Linked DNA regions of Homo sapiens: all the other regions are linked to region 1. The links are contacts of gene promoters, found by promoter capture Hi-C in blood cells and fetal thymus (Javierre and others, 2016). All regions are on one chromosome and are shown on one strand. Each heading gives the region's core, a stretch centred on a gene start or on the middle of the fragment in contact. The rest is flanking DNA. Distances are from core to core; before and after follow the strand shown.

The links. Contacts are between HindIII fragments. The CHiCAGO score rates a contact against its expected background, and 5 or more counts as called.
Region 2: a contact is called between a fragment that was not itself captured here and the fragment with the promoter of RSKR in region 1, in 14 of 17 cell types (naive B cells, total B cells, naive CD4 T cells and 11 more). The highest score is 18.0, in naive B cells.
Region 3: a fragment that was not itself captured here is called in contact with the fragment with the promoter of RSKR in region 1 in 1 of 17 cell types (naive B cells); the score reaches 6.7 in naive B cells.
Region 4: a fragment that was not itself captured here is called in contact with the fragment with the promoter of RSKR in region 1 in 2 of 17 cell types (M1 macrophages and endothelial precursors); the score reaches 6.7 in M1 macrophages.
Region 5: a fragment that was not itself captured here is called in contact with the fragment with the promoter of RSKR in region 1 in 3 of 17 cell types (megakaryocytes, total B cells and naive B cells); the score reaches 6.0 in megakaryocytes.

What each region holds. Positions count from the first base shown.
Region 1 is chr17:28,612,587-28,615,789 of GRCh38, forward strand. It overlaps RSKR (ribosomal protein S6 kinase related), which reads right to left and starts at 1,599. Exons shown (of 12, transcript NM_001174103.2): 1 at 1,501-1,599; 2 at 854-1,102; 3 at 676-759; 4 at 492-560; 5 at 32-101. The coding sequence starts at 1,575. BLTP2 (bridge-like lipid transfer protein family member 2) reads right to left here. Exons shown (of 39, transcript NM_014680.5): 38 at 3,078-3,203; 39 at 1,860-2,660. The coding sequence ends at 2,478. The region is part of intron 2 of SPAG5-AS1 (SPAG5 antisense RNA 1); the gene reads left to right. The HindIII fragment of the contact is 13,614 bases long and covers 1-2,805 here.
Region 2 is chr17:28,493,062-28,496,264 of GRCh38, forward strand. It overlaps SLC13A2 (solute carrier family 13 member 2), which reads left to right. Exons shown (of 12, transcript NM_003984.4): 7 at 510-728; 8 at 956-1,044; 9 at 1,330-1,451; 10 at 2,594-2,755. Among named protein-coding and RNA genes, the nearest start is that of FOXN1, 12 kb to the right of the region's middle. RefSeq lists an enhancer at 88-157. The HindIII fragment of the contact is 7,617 bases long and covers 1-3,203 here.
Region 3 is chr17:28,509,635-28,512,837 of GRCh38, forward strand. The region is part of intron 1 of FOXN1 (forkhead box N1); the gene reads left to right. Among named protein-coding and RNA genes, the nearest start is that of FOXN1, 4.9 kb to the left of the region's middle. The HindIII fragment of the contact is 2,081 bases long and covers 432-2,512 here.
Region 4 is chr17:28,702,287-28,705,489 of GRCh38, forward strand. SUPT6H (SPT6 homolog, histone chaperone and transcription elongation factor) reads left to right here. Exons shown (of 37, transcript NM_003170.5): 37 at 1-393. PROCA1 (protein interacting with cyclin A1) reads right to left here. Exons shown (of 5, transcript NM_001366301.1): 3 at 2,422-2,557; 4 at 2,021-2,149; 5 at 911-1,926. The coding sequence ends at 1,272. Among named protein-coding and RNA genes, the nearest start is that of PROCA1, 8.0 kb to the right of the region's middle. The HindIII fragment of the contact is 5,760 bases long and covers 1-3,203 here.
Region 5 is chr17:28,547,115-28,550,317 of GRCh38, forward strand. It overlaps UNC119 (unc-119 lipid binding chaperone), which reads right to left. Exons shown (of 5, transcript NM_005148.4): 2 at 1,478-1,591; 3 at 885-987; 4 at 563-735; 5 at 1-295. The coding sequence ends at 183. Among named protein-coding and RNA genes, the nearest start is that of UNC119, 3.9 kb to the right of the region's middle. RefSeq lists enhancers at 1-657, 495-604, 625-674, 658-1,494 and a silencer at 3,027-3,076. The HindIII fragment of the contact is 1,645 bases long and covers 650-2,294 here.

The DNA.
Region 1 (3,203 bases), core at 349-2,848:
TGGGGGATGAGGAGAGAGTCCAGTCACTCACTAATGAAAAGGTGCCGTTTTCCCTGCCAGCTGTCCCCCAAGCTGTGTACAAAGGGATGGTTGATCTGTCGCTAGGAACAAAGAAAACAGGAAGTTAGGGAGGAACAGGGTCATTGAGAATAAAGGCAGCTGAGAAATCAGGTTTTACCCAGATGTGCAGAGGGGGAACTGCTGCCTCACCTCTCAGTTCAGAGGAACTCAATATTTGGAACTGACTATCTGGTAATCCTAGAACCAGCAAATACTAAGGAATACACTGGGACATGCTTCAGAGATTTCCCTAGTAGGACATGGGAAAACTGTGTTGAGAGCTGATACTTTTCCCAGGATCTACTTTAGTGTTAAACTAGGCTGAAGCAGATGGATGAGGCAGAACCAGGAAAAGAAGGTGGGCAAGAAAGGTACTTTCCCTACCTGTGGCCTAGCTCTTCCCACAATCCTTTCCAGGACTCTGTGCATACCTGGATGCTAACCTCCTCTTTGCACTGCCTCACGGTATCCCTCTGTAGGACCTTTACCTTGGGCACCACCTATAAAAGGAGAGTAGTGATGACTCATAGATAGTGCTATTGAATTGTTTATTCCTCCCAACCTCTCTGGAATCAAGATTGGAAACAGAGACTAATGTGGTATCTACGCCCCTACCTTCACTGCAAATACAGCTTTCTGGGTGCAATCTAGCACCTTGAGGACAGTTCCAAAGGAGCCTTTAGCCACGAGGCCTAAAATCTGTACAGAGGAATGGAGAACAGGCCAGTTGAGACTGGTCATTTTTAACTTCTCCCAAAGACTGAGACCCCACTCAGGGATTCCACTGACTTACCTTCAGCTGCTGCTGCCCCCTAATGGGCCTAATGGGAAACTCTGGTAGAAAGAGGTTGATGAACTGAGGCACTGGCCACTCTGGCAGAGGCTTCTCTACCAGTACTGGGGCTGGCTTTAGGGATTCCTGGTGCAGATAGTGGTGCCCCCGTAGTTCCCAGAGTTCTTCCAGATCTGACCTGATGGTTCCCAAACCTGTCCAGAGGCTCTTCCAGCCTCGGGCCCAGGGACCCCGGATGTTGCCACCCTGCTGAGAACCAAGGGAGCCACTCTAAACTTTCTGCTCCTGAGGCATAGCAGGTTCCACCCATCTTACTAGGCACTCCCTCCCCTTAAGTCTCAACCCCTAGAGGTACATTTTTGAGCATGAGGCAAAATTCCCATTACCCTTGCTTTGTGCTAAGCCCCAGATTTCCTGGGCACAATTCAAATCCTCTAGGAAAATAATTGTTGGACATTTTCACCATGACGCATTAAGAGTACAGCCTGCACCTCAGTATTGGGCTGTGATGCTTTCATAGTACAGCCTCCCTGCCCCACCCCCACATTGGGTAATCACTTCCATGCTCCTAACCAGGAACTTCCCAGGACTCAAGCCCATGTCTCCCTCTCCTCCCCTCAGTAGGCTGCCAGAGCCCCACAGCCTACCTTGTGAGGGACAGCCACCCGGGTGTGTTCCCCCTGCTGGGTGTGCTGCCCCTGCCGACAGCTTACTGCTCCCATTCCCAGCCTCTGCCTCCTCTCTCTGCTAAATCTGCTGTCCCAGTTATATAAGCAATTCCTCTCCCTGATGCTGCGTGACACGAGCCCCGCCTCTTCCAGTCTGCAGAAACCCATCAGCATGGGGCCAGAGTCACACTAGGACTAGAAATTTCTGTGATACAGCTTCAGGGCAGAGGAAGGAAGGGGCCACCCTCAGAGTGGCAGCTGCAGGATGTTCTGGGTTGATGAGGGAGGAATACACAGATTGAATGCATGCACTCAACACACACACACAAAAATGAGCATCAAATTTAAAATATCTTTTTTTTTCTCTTTAAATCATTTTGCCATTCTCCAGGGTATATCCTACGGGGAAGGGTAGGGGACCCATGGCCAGCCCTGGCTCCTACTGCCATCCTCCCAAGTGAACTTAGCACAGAGACTGGGGAGGGGTTGACCCCCACTCCAGAACACCAATACCTCTTTCAAACATGACAGTGGAGTGAGGATCAGAGGATCAGCCCCCTCCCGTTTCCTGGCACAGAGGAAGGACAGTTACACTTAGAAATATATATATAATATATATATATTTATATATGTCTATAAAAATTTATCACACTTGATCAGGACTATCCCCCTACCCTTTCACTTGACCCCAAGGGAATAGGGTCCTGCCCTGGGCCCATTCCCTGGGTCTTGCTCTCTTGTTGCCTCTCTGGCCCTGAGCCTGATCAGTGTGAGACAGAACTCAGCATTACTGTCCACCATGCCCTGCAGCGAACAGACCAGGTGCTGAAGAGTGATGCCTATGGGCTCTGACACCCACAAATCCTCGTGGATAACGGGAAGCCCCTCCCACCCCACAAGTCCCTGGAGCCTGAGCCAGAGTCAGATCCTGTACTGCAGCCACTCGAATCGCCAAATCATTTGCGCCTGCCAAAGATGGACTTCTTGCCAGGGTTCTTGTCGCCCACACTTAAACCAATGAGGAGCCGGGCTTTCTCCTCCTCTTCCTGCTGTTGCATGTTCAGGTCCGATTTAGTTTCTAGCTTTCCCCGGACCTCAGAGCCTGTTGCAGACTTCAGCCTTAGCTTCTCTTTGATTACCTGGCAGATTGGAGAGGAGTAAAAGAAAATGTAAATATTAGTGGGCAGGCAGAATAAATCAAAATGAACCAAGACAATAAAGATTTATTAAACACATCCAAGGCACAATGGGGCAATTCACATACAATGGTCTCTGCTTTCAAGAAGCTTACAGTCTAATTATAACCCCTTCTAAACTTTAGGTTGTGTTAGCTCTCAGTTCCCTAAAATCAATGGTGCTATACGAAACACTCAGTAAACACTGAATTTAATAATCTGAGTGAGGTCATGGAGAGGGTAGGCATAGAAGCCACTCACTTCATGCACCTGCCCCTTCCCAAGGATATTTATTCATGGATTCTAAAATGAAAGGCTCCTGAAAAGAGGATCTGCCTGCCAGCCCCATTAGCCAAACAGCCATGAGCCCTGGCGGGATACCTGGGCAACCAGGGCTTTGCGGCTGTCCCTTTTGACAGCCATGGCAAAGTCTAGCCATGTCCATGTGTTGTTGTGGTACTCCAGACAGGGCAGCACCAGGTTAAGGTCACCCCAGTCCACACTGTT
Region 2 (3,203 bases), core at 398-2,897, 120 kb before region 1:
GGGAGGTTGAGATTTACCCAAGTGGAAAGTTAAATGTCAACACAAGTTAAGTCAGCAGCAGAAGGAAGTGGGCTGCAGCCTACTGTGCCTCTGAGGACAATGCAGGTGGGGCTCAGGCTGGCAGGGGATAAGCAGAGAAGGCAGAGGAGGGAAGGGAGGACTTCCCGAAGGCTGTTGGAGGAGAAGAGCTGTGAGCCAGGGCAGGAAGAAGTCCCAGGGTCTGAGCTGCTAGGTCCTCCTCACCCTGGGCAAGGGAGGGTTCAGCACCATAGAACCCCTGGAGGAAAAGGGGCTCAATGGGGCAGGGCCAAGCATGGAGAATAAGCAAGAACTATGGCCTCTAAAAGTCTTCTGCTCCTCCTCCAGAACCTCAGGCGGAGCTGGGGCCTGAGTGTAGTGACCCTGAGATGCCCTCTGTGGGCCTCAGCCTTTAGATGGTAGGCACTCAGAGCCCCTTGCTCCCTGCTGGAGCAGGCCCCCCACGAGCTGCCCCGTCCCTCTGCCTGCAGCTTCCGGAAGAACTTTGGCATTGGGGAAAAGATGCAGGAGCAACAGCAGGCAGCCTACTGCGTCATCCAGACCGAGCACAGGCTGCTGGGCCCCATGACCTTTGCAGAAAAGGCCATCAGCATCCTATTCGTCATCCTGGTGCTGCTCTGGTTCACCCGGGAGCCGGGCTTTTTTCTTGGCTGGGGCAATTTGGCTTTTCCCAATGCCAAGGGGGAGAGGTGAGAGTTGCAGGGGTTGGGAGGAGGACACATCTGGGGCTCACATGCTCGGGAAGGAGGGAAGGGTATAGGGCCCCCATTGCAGAACAGGAGGTAACACTTGGTGGGGGATGAAGGTTCCCCAGGCTTGTCTATGGGAGAGGCTCATCTCCACCACCCTCCACCCTGTGGCCCTGAGCAACCCCAAGCGGCTAACCCAGCCCTCCCCGCGCCCCCTCCACCAACAGCATGGTGTCCGATGGGACAGTGGCCATCTTCATCGGCATAATTATGTTCATCATACCCTCCAAGTTCCCAGGGCTGACCCAGGACCCAGGTAAGCACCTGGACTGGGGCAGGGAAGGGTCTCCGGGCAGCCCCTGCCTTCAAGTATGTAATGTACCTTCCACCACACTTGGCAGGAGTAGGCAAAGCCCAGAAAGGCTGGAGCGACTTGCCAAGGGCACAGGGACTCGGAGACAAAGTTGAGATGTTGCAGAACTGAGGGTCCCCTCCTGCACGCGTTAAGCTCCAAAAGGGACCCACACAGGGAGCCCGCAAATGGAGAGGGGAAAGGCCTGTTTGTTCTTTGGTGACCCATCCTTCTCTGCTTGGGAAGTAGAAAACCCAGGGAAGCTGAAGGCCCCTCTTGGCCTCCTCGACTGGAAGACGGTGAACCAGAAGATGCCGTGGAATATCGTGTTATTGCTGGGTGGTGGCTATGCCCTGGCCAAGGGCAGTGAGGTGAGAGGCCCCCAGCCCCCTCCTCAGCCTGTGTGAGGGTGTCTCTGTGGCAGGGAGAGAGGGGGCCCTGCTTCTGTCCCACAGAGGGGAGACCTGGTCCCCACGTAGGAGCCTCTCGGGTAGGCAGAGCCTTTGCAGCAGCTGGGAAGACTTAGGTTAGAGCCCTCATGTGGGAGGAAGAAACACAAGCCCTAGGGACCTCTTTGTTCAGTTCTCAAAGTCCAAGGGAAGGCAGGATTCTCTGGTGGGCAGAGCCTGTTCTCAGAGACAAATGCCATCCCACCCCAGCCCTTTGCCCGCTGCCAGAGCACACAGTAGCATCAGCACCAAAGTAATTGGGGGTTGTGTTGACGCGGTCTGCCCTCCGCAGCCACCAGGGGGCACCATGATCACACCCACCCAGGCTCTGGGGACCAGAACATCTTTCCCCAGAGCCTCCATCCAAAAGAGGGAAATCCCTGACACGGCATCCCTGGGCCTCCGTGTTCTGGCTCAAACAGAAGGTGGCTGCCCAGGTCAGGGATCGGTGCAGGGGACTCCTGGGTCTGTGGCATGTTCATCCACTGACTGTGCCCAGTCCTGTGCTAGGCGCTGGCCCCACTGAGCGAGATTAAGTCCCACCTTACAGCCTGGCATTCCAGACGTGGGAAGGCAAGACCTCGGAGCTCTTCTGACCCTGTGGACTGTCCCTGTCCTCCCATTAGCCTCTTGCAGCCTCTGTCAGGGTCCTCCCCCAACTTTCCCTCCCTGCCAGGAGCAAGGTTCCCTCTGCCCCAAGCCACTGGACTGGAAGGGGCAGGAAGAGGGCTAAGGTTGTCCAGGGACCTCCTGAGAGAGGTCAGGAAGGCAGGAGTCAGTGCGGTCAAAGATTTTTGCTCCCACCAAGCCCCAAATTTCCCAAGAAGGCCCTTTGGCCCCCTCCTAATTTCTCATCTGCCCCTTCTTCCCACACCCAGCTGTTCTTCAAGAGCAGGAAAGGGCACCCCTTGGTCTTAGCTGGGTCCTATCATCCCTTTAGAGCTGTCTTTGACTCTGAATACCAGGGAGATGTTAGCAGGAGCAGGAGCCTCATAGAGCCTCGGCAGAAGACTTGGGGGCCCAGGCAGCCTTGCCTCTCACATGCCATCCTCCTCTGCCCACAGCGATCGGGCCTGTCAGAGTGGCTGGGAAACAAGCTGACCCCACTGCAGAGTGTGCCAGCTCCAGCCATTGCCATCATCCTCTCCCTCCTGGTGGCCACCTTCACCGAGTGCACTAGCAACGTGGCCACCACTACGATCTTCCTGCCCATCCTAGCCTCCATGGTGAGCTGGCCCTCAGAAACACCTCCTCCAGGCAGCCCGCCTGCCTGCCCCACCAGGGGTTCTGCCTGCTGGGCAGAGTATCCTGTCTTTGCACCTCCTCTTTTCCTTTTCCTGAAGAGGACCCCTGAGTTTCCATCCTTCTCCAGGCTCTTGAGCCACCTTGGGCCCCAAGGCGCTTTGGCCCCTGACTCACCCCGTCCCTCATGATGTCACCCCTGGAGTATCCTGATGGGGATCCTGGTGGCCTCACCCACCTCCCCACCCCAGTCCCTGTTCTGGTCATTCCTGAGGTGACGGGGTGAAATTGCTCCCCGAAGCGTCCCAAGCCCCTTCCTCCCCAGGCGTGTTCCTGCAGCCTTTGATGACACCCCCGGAGCCCCTTTGAGATCAGTTTTATGGGCCCCTCCCCTCACCACACCCCACAAGGCAGGGCAGCACACTCATTCCC
Region 3 (3,203 bases), core at 222-2,721, 100 kb before region 1:
CCGTAAAGGCTGGATGCTCACCAAACAGTAAAAATGAGTTCAGATGCAACAAGACAAGTGGAGGGCTGGCGCCCAGACAGACCTCCACACTGCGGGCATGTGGCAGTGAAGCGGGGATGGAGAGACACCCTCATAGAGCCCCAAAGCGGGGCCGGGGCAGGCTTTCTCAGGGGGCTGGGAGCGTAACTGATCCTATCAGGCATGGCGGGCCAAGGAAGAGGGGGCATGGAAGCAGGAGCAGGGATTTTTAGGGTTGATTAGGAGTGCGCATCCCCGGGTCTCTACCCTGCCTGTGGCCCTTGCTTAGTCAGCTCAGATTAATGGGGCCAGGGAGAGAATTCGCTGAATCGTGATCTCTTGGGGAACTTGACTGGAGAGCCAGCTGTGAGTCATGGAGAAAAGGGAACCTGTGCTCTCACAGCTACTCTAGAAGCTTCCAGGGGTAGGCAACCCTCCAGATCCTCCCATCCCCTTCCAGAATGCAACAGAAAGCCCACTGCAAGGTCTGACCCTCGCCCTCCACCCCATGCTCACAGGAGGATGCACTGTCAGTCAGCTCCAAATCCTGCCCTCATACACCCTCCGGGGCCTTCAGGGCTCCCCCCACTGCCTCTGACAAACTACAGCACAGAGACACACATACACACAGAGACACACACACACAGAGACACACACCCAGACACATGCACAGAGATACATACATGCACACACGCATACATATATACATACAGAGAGACACACACAGAGACACACACAGACACACGCGCACGCACACACACAGAATGAGAATGGGGTGCATCCCTGGAACCAGATTGCCTGGAGACAGTTGGAGGTCCCACTTACACTTGTAAATTCCATAGCCATGTCCCGGACTGCACCAGCCCATCAGTCTCGGAAGGCATAGAATGTACATGAGGAAGGACACACACACACACGCACACACACGCACACACACACACACACACACACACACACACACATCGCTGTGATCAGAAAACCCAATTATCAGACTCTGCACTTAGCACCCCTCCTCCACGCAGGCCCAGAGTGACCACAGCAGTCTTCACTGTCAGTGGGGGCAGTGTCCCCAGCTTCCTCTGGAGAGGGTTCCTGGAGCCCACGTTGGGCACCAAGAGCATGTGGCTTCATAGAGGTGGCTCTGCTTCTCTGTGCCTTCCCGCAAGCGTGGTCAATCTGCCTAAAGTGGGAAGGGTTTTGGAGAAAAAATTATTTGGGGTGGCAATGCCAAATCCAGTATGATCTGAGGGTGGTCAAGGGAGAAAGATGGCAGCTGGAGCCAAGGAGCTGGATGGGCTCAGGAAAATGCCCCCAGAGCCTGCCCCTTCTCCAGGGACATGATTAGGTGCTGAGAGCTGCTTCCCATAGCCCCAGCACCTGGAGGAAGGAGCAGCGCACAGATGCCTGCATAGCAGGGAACAATCTCTCCCACTGGTGGGACCTCGGTTTCCCCATCTGTCAGATAAAGAGGGGCTTGGGTGGGAGGGCCTCCCAGTGCACTTCTCACTTCAAGGCTTAGTAAGTTCAAGGAGATAACCACCTGCCCATCCCCTGTGCAAGATGGCATTGGGAGAGGAGGTGCACCAGTATGTATTTGCCTTGTACTAAATCTGTATTATTAGTAGTGGTGGCAGAATTAATATCCTTAATAATAGATTGGTATTAATGAGCAGTTCTGATAATGATATGTACAGAATGTGAGAGGCCCCTGGCCCAACGGACAGTGGGATCCTGGGCCATTTCTTTGCCCCCACTCAGGTGGACAGGCAAAGAGCGAGCGCACCAGCAGGACGAGGGCCCTCTTGACCATCCCCCTGGGGCACACCCCTAGGAAGGGCAGATGTTTGAAGGTAAAAAGATCTCACTCAGCCCCATCCCACTCCTGAAATCCTACAGGCCTGGGACCCCAGGGGAGGAGGCAGGGGCACCAGACAAGCTGGTGCTGGTTTAACTTCTGAGGATTTTGACATTCTGGTTCTCACTCGGTCCCCAGGACAGCCAGATGAGGTATGTAGGGCAAAGATGAGGACTCCATTTTATAAAGGAGGGAACAAGGTTTATTCTCATGACTAGCCCACACCGAGAGCAGAGCTGGGAAAGGACCCTCCTGCAGTCCTTGGTCGGGAGGACTCACTGTGAGGGAAAAGGGGGATTCTGTAGGGAAGCCAGGATCTGGGCTCAGTGAAGGCGTCCAGAGATTATAACGCCAGGTTACGGGGGAGGTGAGACCAAGCTCCAACATCCCTGTTGGTCTCACAGATCAAATCCTCTGCTGCCAATCACTGCCACAGCCCAACAACTCCAAAGCCAATTACCTACACAGCCCACAGGAGGCTGGGGGTGGGACCATCGGGCTCAGCCCTGGGTGACTTCATTACAGGGGTAGGACTTCCGGGCCACAGGGACCCAGAGCTAATGAGTGCTTAGAGGTCAGCCACTTCATCCCATACCCCAGCCCATTTCTCCATCCCCTTCAGCCAGTGTAGCTGGAGGAAGCTTGTTGAGGAGGGATGAAGGCAAGGCTTCACAATCTGTGCAAAAGCCTCCTGGTCCTTCACTCATGCCCCACCTCATCAGCCATTCTTTGGCCCTTATCACAGCTGGGCAGACTGAGGATTTCAGGGAACTTTCTTCTCTAGAAACCAATGTCTAAGGCCTCAGATCACTGCTTTCTGAACACTGCCCCCTGGAAGGATCAAGCAGGCAACAAGTTCCTCCTTCTCAAAAGTCCAGCTTTCCAGTCAAGCCCTGAGTGGTTCTAGGCCACCTTGTCCACCTCCAAGTCCTAGGTCAGGCCAGTTCTCACCATCAGACTCAGCCATGGCTTCAAAAAATCCCTGGGAATAGGTGAGCACCGTGGCATGCACTTTTAGTCTCATATACTCCAGAGGCTGAGGCGAGAGCCTAGGAGTTTGAGACCAGCCTGGGCAACAAAGCAAGACCCCATCTCTAGAACCTGGGGAAGGTGGAGGTGGGAGAACCTTCTCCTTAAACTGCCTGTCCAAGGGGGTTTTATGTTTTTGGAACTGGGAATTCCCCTCCCCCACTAACCTTGGCGGGGCAAGCTTGCTGACCTTGCTTCTGGGAGCAAGATGTTGGGGTAGGCTCCCAGCCTCAGAGCCTGGACTCCAGAGTAGCCAGGGAGGCAGGAGGGTGGAGGAGGCAGACCATGAATGACACCCACA
Region 4 (3,203 bases), core at 189-2,688, 90 kb after region 1:
AAGCAGTGTTTGGAGCTCCAAGGACTCCCCTGACTCCCTCTTCTGATCCATCAGAGGCAAAGATTCATAGACTAGAGGCAGCTTCTACATCAGACTGCCTGGGGCACATCCCTGCTCTACTTCCCAGCCGGGTGACCCTGTGCCAGTTCCTGCTGCCTTTCAGCTGGCTTTCTTACCTGTAACATGGAGATAGTGATACCTGCCTCATCAGCTGCTGTGAGGACCAAGGCAGCGTGTGCAAGCTCCTTGGCCCAACGCCTGGTACGTCGCAAATGTTACCCGGTATTATTACACCCACTCACTCACCCACAGCACAGCTGCCCCATCCGCCCATGCCTGCTGGTCTTCTCTGGCACCCTGGAGAAAGGCCACAAGTAAATCTGGATTTCTCAACTTGAGCCTCTGCCGTTCATCTCTTCCCTTTTCCCAGCTGGGCCTTGGTCTCTTGCAAGCTCTCAGCAGTAAGGTGTTCCTGCCCCAGGATGGGGCCCTGCTCACCTGCTCCCCTCCAACACACTGGCCCTGGCCCTTTGTCCCTGCCCCACTGCATTTTTTGTTCTGAACTCCTGCCATCCCTGTTTCTGCACAAGGGCTTCGTCTCACAGCTCTGTGAGTCAATGCTGGGAGAGTGGGGCCTCTGGCTCCCTTTCCTTTGCTTGGGGCTCAGCAGAGAAGTCAGAAAAGGCCACTGCTGCCCAGACGTGGCACACTCCCTCCCCTTGTTTTTCTTCATCAAGATCTGGGGGAAGGGGCCAGCTCTGCCAGGAACTCAAGTCAGCTCCCTTCAGCACAAAAGGGCTACAAGGGAGGAGCTAGACCACCAGCTGGGAAGGTCAGTCTCTGGTAGTACCACGAGCACCTTCTGCAGAGCCACTTAGAGGAGGGAAAGGCCAGGCACAGTGGCACAGAGTGGGTTAAAAAGTTCCGTTTATTGGGGGTATCGCTGCAGACAGTACTGCCTGTCCCAGAAGTGGATTTCACACAGACCAGTCTCTCGCAGCAGAGAGGGGAAGCCCTCCTTCCCACCCCAGATACACTCTTCCACCTTGTCCTAGCAGGTAGGAAGAAATAGGGCTGTGCCCCTTCCTTTCCCTCCCACCTGCCTTCCCATGGGCTTCCTTTGTGAAAGCTGGATTGCCTTTGAGAAACCCCTGCAGCCCTGAGCCCACCCCTTGCCCCGCAAGAAACAGCCAGGTTGGAGGGAGAGAACAGCAGCAGAGGGCCAGCCACAGGCTCGATGGCATTTATTCTGCACCCTGACCACCCTGGCCTCAACTGAGGTTGGGGTTTGATCCTGGGGGAGATTTTCTCTTGTTTACCTTCCTGGCTTGTGAGGGCTTTGCCCCTGTCTTTTTGGCCTGGACTGTGTTCTCTCTCTTCCTGGGCGATGATGATTCCACAATATCCTCGCTGGACAGTTCTCCCTGCCCCCGGCCATTGTAACTGTCCTCGCTCTCCAGCTCTTCCCGGCTTTCTGGGCTGGACTCGGACATCCTGGCCAGCTGTCTTGCGCTTAATGATCGGCTCACGTCTGGCGGGGAAGGCTCCAATTTAACCGGGCTTTTCTTCTTAGTCAACTGGCCTTTCTTGGCTTTTTTCTTCAGCTTTGCCTTCTCATCCATCTCCTCCTTGTCTTTCTCTTTTTCCTTTTTCTTCTTTACCTTCTTGATCACCTTGCTGCCCTGACCCTTCCCTGTGGGGCTCTCAGAGCGCCAGATGGTGATGGGCGCTGTGGAGTCAGGGGTACCAGTGGCCATGCTGGTGCCTAGGTCAGGGGAGGCGGTGGCGGGCCCCACCTGTGTCGGGATGGGGGGCTTGCTTTCCTCCTCCTCCTCTTCCTCTTCTTCATTTAGATCATCTGCCCCACACTCATGGTAGAGTGGATGGTGGATCACTGCCACAGAGACAGGTCTGTAGCTTTTGCACCTGGGAGAAGGGACAACGGGGGAAGTTTGACAGAGAGTGGGGGGCAGTGCCCTGTAGAGGCCCCTTCCCCATCAGCCCACCGGGGCTCACTCACCAGCCATACCGGAATCGCTCCACATGCTCCTCCTCCGGTGTGAGCTCAAAGCAAGGGGACTCGATGACATGGGAGCAGGTTGGGCCCGCGCCCCGGGAGCTGCTGCTATCCTCTGAAGAGTCCTTCAGCCTGCCACACATGGGACTCTCAGCCTGGCTCCCATCACTCCCCCAGGGACCCAGAGCCAGAAGCCTGAGGGACAGTGGGCTTCCGCTGGGCCTGCCTCAGGCCAACAGACCTCCTCCCCATTTCTCTTAGAGCAGAGCAAGGTGTGCAGAGCTGGGACTGGGCTGGCAGCACCAATTCAAAGCTGAAGAGGCAAACCAAAGGTTGAAGGGGAGACCACAATGAAAGTTCGGACCTGGCTCTGCCATGGGTCCCCCAAGGGGGCGGGCCCTCACCTAGAATTACAGTTGCAGTGGTTGACAGAGTGTAGGTGCAGGCTGTGGCGGACACAGTCAGAGGCGAAAGGGTAGATGATGTGCCCAGTGCACTGCTTGTGTCTCCAGCAGCACTTGTCAGGCTCCTTGCAGTCACCTGAGGGGGCAGGAGTCTGGGTCATCAGTAGCAGCCGCAGACCTCTGGGTCTTCCCACAGCTCAAGCTAAAACCTCACCAAATTCACCTGCCACCACCAGCTGTCCACCCCAAGAAGTGTTTCTGCTTCAGTAGTAGTAACTTGGCCGCAGAGTAACCCCATGTCCCAGCAAAGTGTCTGGTTCCATGTCTGATACACAGGAGACCCTTATCAAGCCCCCTGCAGTCCTGTGATTCCCTGTTACTTCTGTCCTCTCCCTCCAGTGGGAGGCCTCCACCAGCTCCTGCCTGCCCCTCAACCAGGTGCTGACAATGAGTGGCAGCCCTGCTCCACAAGGCGCCTGGTAGGAGAAGGCCCTCCTGCTATGGCACCCCACAGCCCCAGGAGCAGCAGAGCCGCAGCATCCTCAGTTCCTACACCTGCCCTGGCCCACGCTGATCTCTCACAGCCTGGCCAGGAGCTAAGGCCTGCATCATGCTCCTTAGCTTCTGACTCGTCCTTCCCTCCCCACTTCCCCCTCCTCCCTTCTCCTTCAAGCCCCTTTTTTTCTCCTGCCTGACACCTTTCTCACTCCCCTCCCTTCCCATGCCCCCTTCTTGATCCTTTCCCTGCTCTTCACTCAGCACCTTCCCACACTCTCCCCAGT
Region 5 (3,203 bases), core at 222-2,721, 66 kb before region 1:
CCGCATGGGCTTCATGGGCTTGACTGGGGACACCAGGTACCCTTCCTCCCAACATTGACTCAGGGTCCGGAGCTCCTGGAGAACTCCCCAAGCAGAGGACTTGGGGTTGAGGGGTGAGCGTTGGGGAGGTCACAGCTCCCAGCCCAGAACTGGAGCCTCCTGGGGTCAGGGCAGCCGTGGGGTCAGGGTGTCCCGCTGTAGGAATAGTCTGCTTTATTGTGCATCACCAGCCGGTCATCCACGAAGTAGAAGCTGTCAGACTGGGTCTCATACGGGTGGCGGATCATCTCGCTGACTGCAAGAGAGGCCCAGCCAGGCCGGGCAAAGGTCAGGAGCTTGAGTCCCGCCACTGCAGGGGCTTCAGGACTGGGGTACAGGGACAGCCAAACAGCCTGAAATATCCCCAGCCTCTTTCTCTACGGATGATATGGGAATGGTGGCAGACACAGAAGAGCCCCAGGGTGGGGAGAAATGGGATCAGACCCACAAGTCCCTCTCCCTCCCGCAGCTCAGTCTCTAGACGCCCCCACTTCCCCACTCCCAGAAGACCCTGCCCGCGCACTCAGCTCCTCGGAGAGAGGGGGGAAGTCGTAAATGTGCTCGCAGGTGTTCTTGCTGCTGGGGATGCAGAAGCCAAAGTGGAAGTCGAAGCTTTTGAGTAGCTGGTTGCGGAAGTAGTGCCTCTCGATCATGCGGAAGTTGTTGACAGGCTTGTCTCCCACTGTGAACTCCACCCTGAGCAAGAAAAGGAGGCAGGGCTAAGTCTGTCCTTGAAGTCAACTAGCCAGCCAGGCTCAGGACAGGCCACCCCTACGAGAGGCTGAGAAGGGCCCACTCACACCCTCTCCCTCACCCCCACCACCACCCATAGCCCAGCGACTCACGTGGCTCCCACCTGCCTCAGGCGGAGGAAGGCAGGCGTGAACTGGTAGCGGACAAAGCGCCCAGCATTGGGGTCCAGGTCCCGCCGGTTGATGGGCAACCGTTCTGCAATGTACCCCAGCTGGGGCTCAGTGGGCTTCAGGCTGGGCCCTTGTCCACCCAGGGTTCTACCCTTGGGTCCCCATCTATCTGATTTTTTTTAAACTCCCCAAGAAATTCCGGGGCACACTGAGGGCTCAGACCATTGGCCAAATAGTGCCACCTAGGGGTTCTAGGTCTGCATGTTCCCAATCGCCACTGTGCTTCCCCGGGCCACAGGATGCTGAGGCCTGGGACCCGTAGGACTGCAGTTCCCAGAGAGCCCTGCAGAGGGCAGGTTGGCAGGGACCGAAGGGGTAGGGCTGACCTCGCAAGATGTCCAGCCTCAGAAACATATGGGAAGGAAAAGAAAGGGCCCCCCTGCCTGCAGACTCCTGAGAATGCTGGGGTCCAAGCCCCAGCTCTGTGGACTCCTCTGTGGCCCAAGGATTCCCTGGGCAGCCCACTCCGCAGCTCCTATCTGCCTCCCCATCAATGGCCCACCCAGCCCACTCACCTGAGACTGGGGGCTTCTTGATTTCAAAGAGGACAGTGCCTGAGTCCATGTCCCGAATCTTAAACCTGACAAAGTCGATCTTGTAGATATTCTCCTCAGGGGAGCAGAGGTAGTCTAGGGGAAACAGGCAGCTGAGCAAGGAAGGGGCCGCAAAGCCCCTGCTGCCAGGTCAGCTTGTGTGGGACCCCAGAGTAGCTACCATCTTCTCATCCCTGGGATCACTGCCCTCTGGAAAGAGGGACCTCAGTCCCTGCCCTTGGGGTACACCCCCAGTGTGGAAGAGACATAACTCCGCCATGGGGATCTAACAGGGGATAAGGAGTGCCATCCTACTGGTCTCTGGGGGCCAGGGAAGGGCAGGGCAGAGAAGGGTAGAGGACAAGGCCACCTCCTGAACACTCTCTCTCCCACTCTGGAGTTGAGGGTCCTCATTCTGGCCTCCGCTCTGCCAAGGCTGGCTAGATGACTTTGGGAGAATTAGGTATCCAGCCTGGTGGGAGCCTCTCTTCTCATATGGGAACAACTTCCTGCAGTCTGACCTGTCTCTTCTACTGCAACTCAGTGTATCAACTTCTCTGGTACCCTGCCTTTGAGAACCACCTGTAAAGGGGGCCACACAGCTCTGTCTTGGGAGAGTCACTGTCCTTCTCTGGAGGATACTCCTACCCTCACCCCACAGCTGCCCCTGGCATGACATCTAGATGTATCAGGTGAGGCTGATGTTAAGGGGACTTTCCCTGATATGGGTGGGGCTGGGGCAGGTGAACAACCCCTTCCCTATTCCTCCTCTCCTCCAAACCCCCTCCTCTCAGTAAGAAGCTTACACCAGCCCAGCTCCCTTAAGCAGCTTAACCAAAGCTCTGCTGACTCAAGCCCAGAGCCTGGGATATGGCAGGTGGGAGGAGGCCAACTTTGCTCTCATCCTTTGTTGATCTCCAAATGGGAGGAAGTCTTAGCAAGCAGAGAGAACCCCCTTAGAGGTCATTTACGCAGCCCTGGCTATGAGCCACCACCATGGAGAAAGTAGTCCTGGACCCCCATAGAGAAGAACACAGGCTAGGCCAGGAGGAGGGTGTGGCAGGTGCAGCAGTGGGTGTGGAAGGGGTAAGGGGAGTCCTCAGGCCCAGGAAGGGAACCAAGAACAGTGGGAGGCCCTGCCTGAGGAAGCTCAGGGAGCTACAGGGCCTGATCTAACCCTCACAGCTCTTGCAGCAGCAACTTCAAGTGCTCAGGGAGGCCCTGGCAACAAAAAGAGCTGAGAGGTGCAGGGAGGGACTCGTGCTGTCAGCCTGCACAGCATCACATCCTCCCCTGGTGGCCCACAGAGGCCTGGAAATCACCCTCCAGGCCCCTGGGCCACCTCCTATTCCTCTGGGGCAGGAACAGGAAGTGAATATAAAGTCATTTTCTCTTCCCCAGGTCTGCTTCTTCCCCAAGCCTGACGCTGTCCCCTCCAGGAAGCCCTCCTGGCAGCCATCTGGTACCCTGGGGCCCAGCATGGACTTTATACAGCTTGGGGAAGAGGCAGGGCCCTGAGTCTACTACAGCCCACATGTGGGGTGGGGAGAGAATGGAAGTGGGCAACCCCTATCTCACCCCATTCACCCTATTTTCACAGAAAGTAAGCACCAGTATAAAGACATAGAAAGAAGGTACAGAGCATAGGGAACGGAGGTGGCAGAGTGGGGAGCAGGATCCCAGTGCCCAACTCCCAGATCCCTGTAAG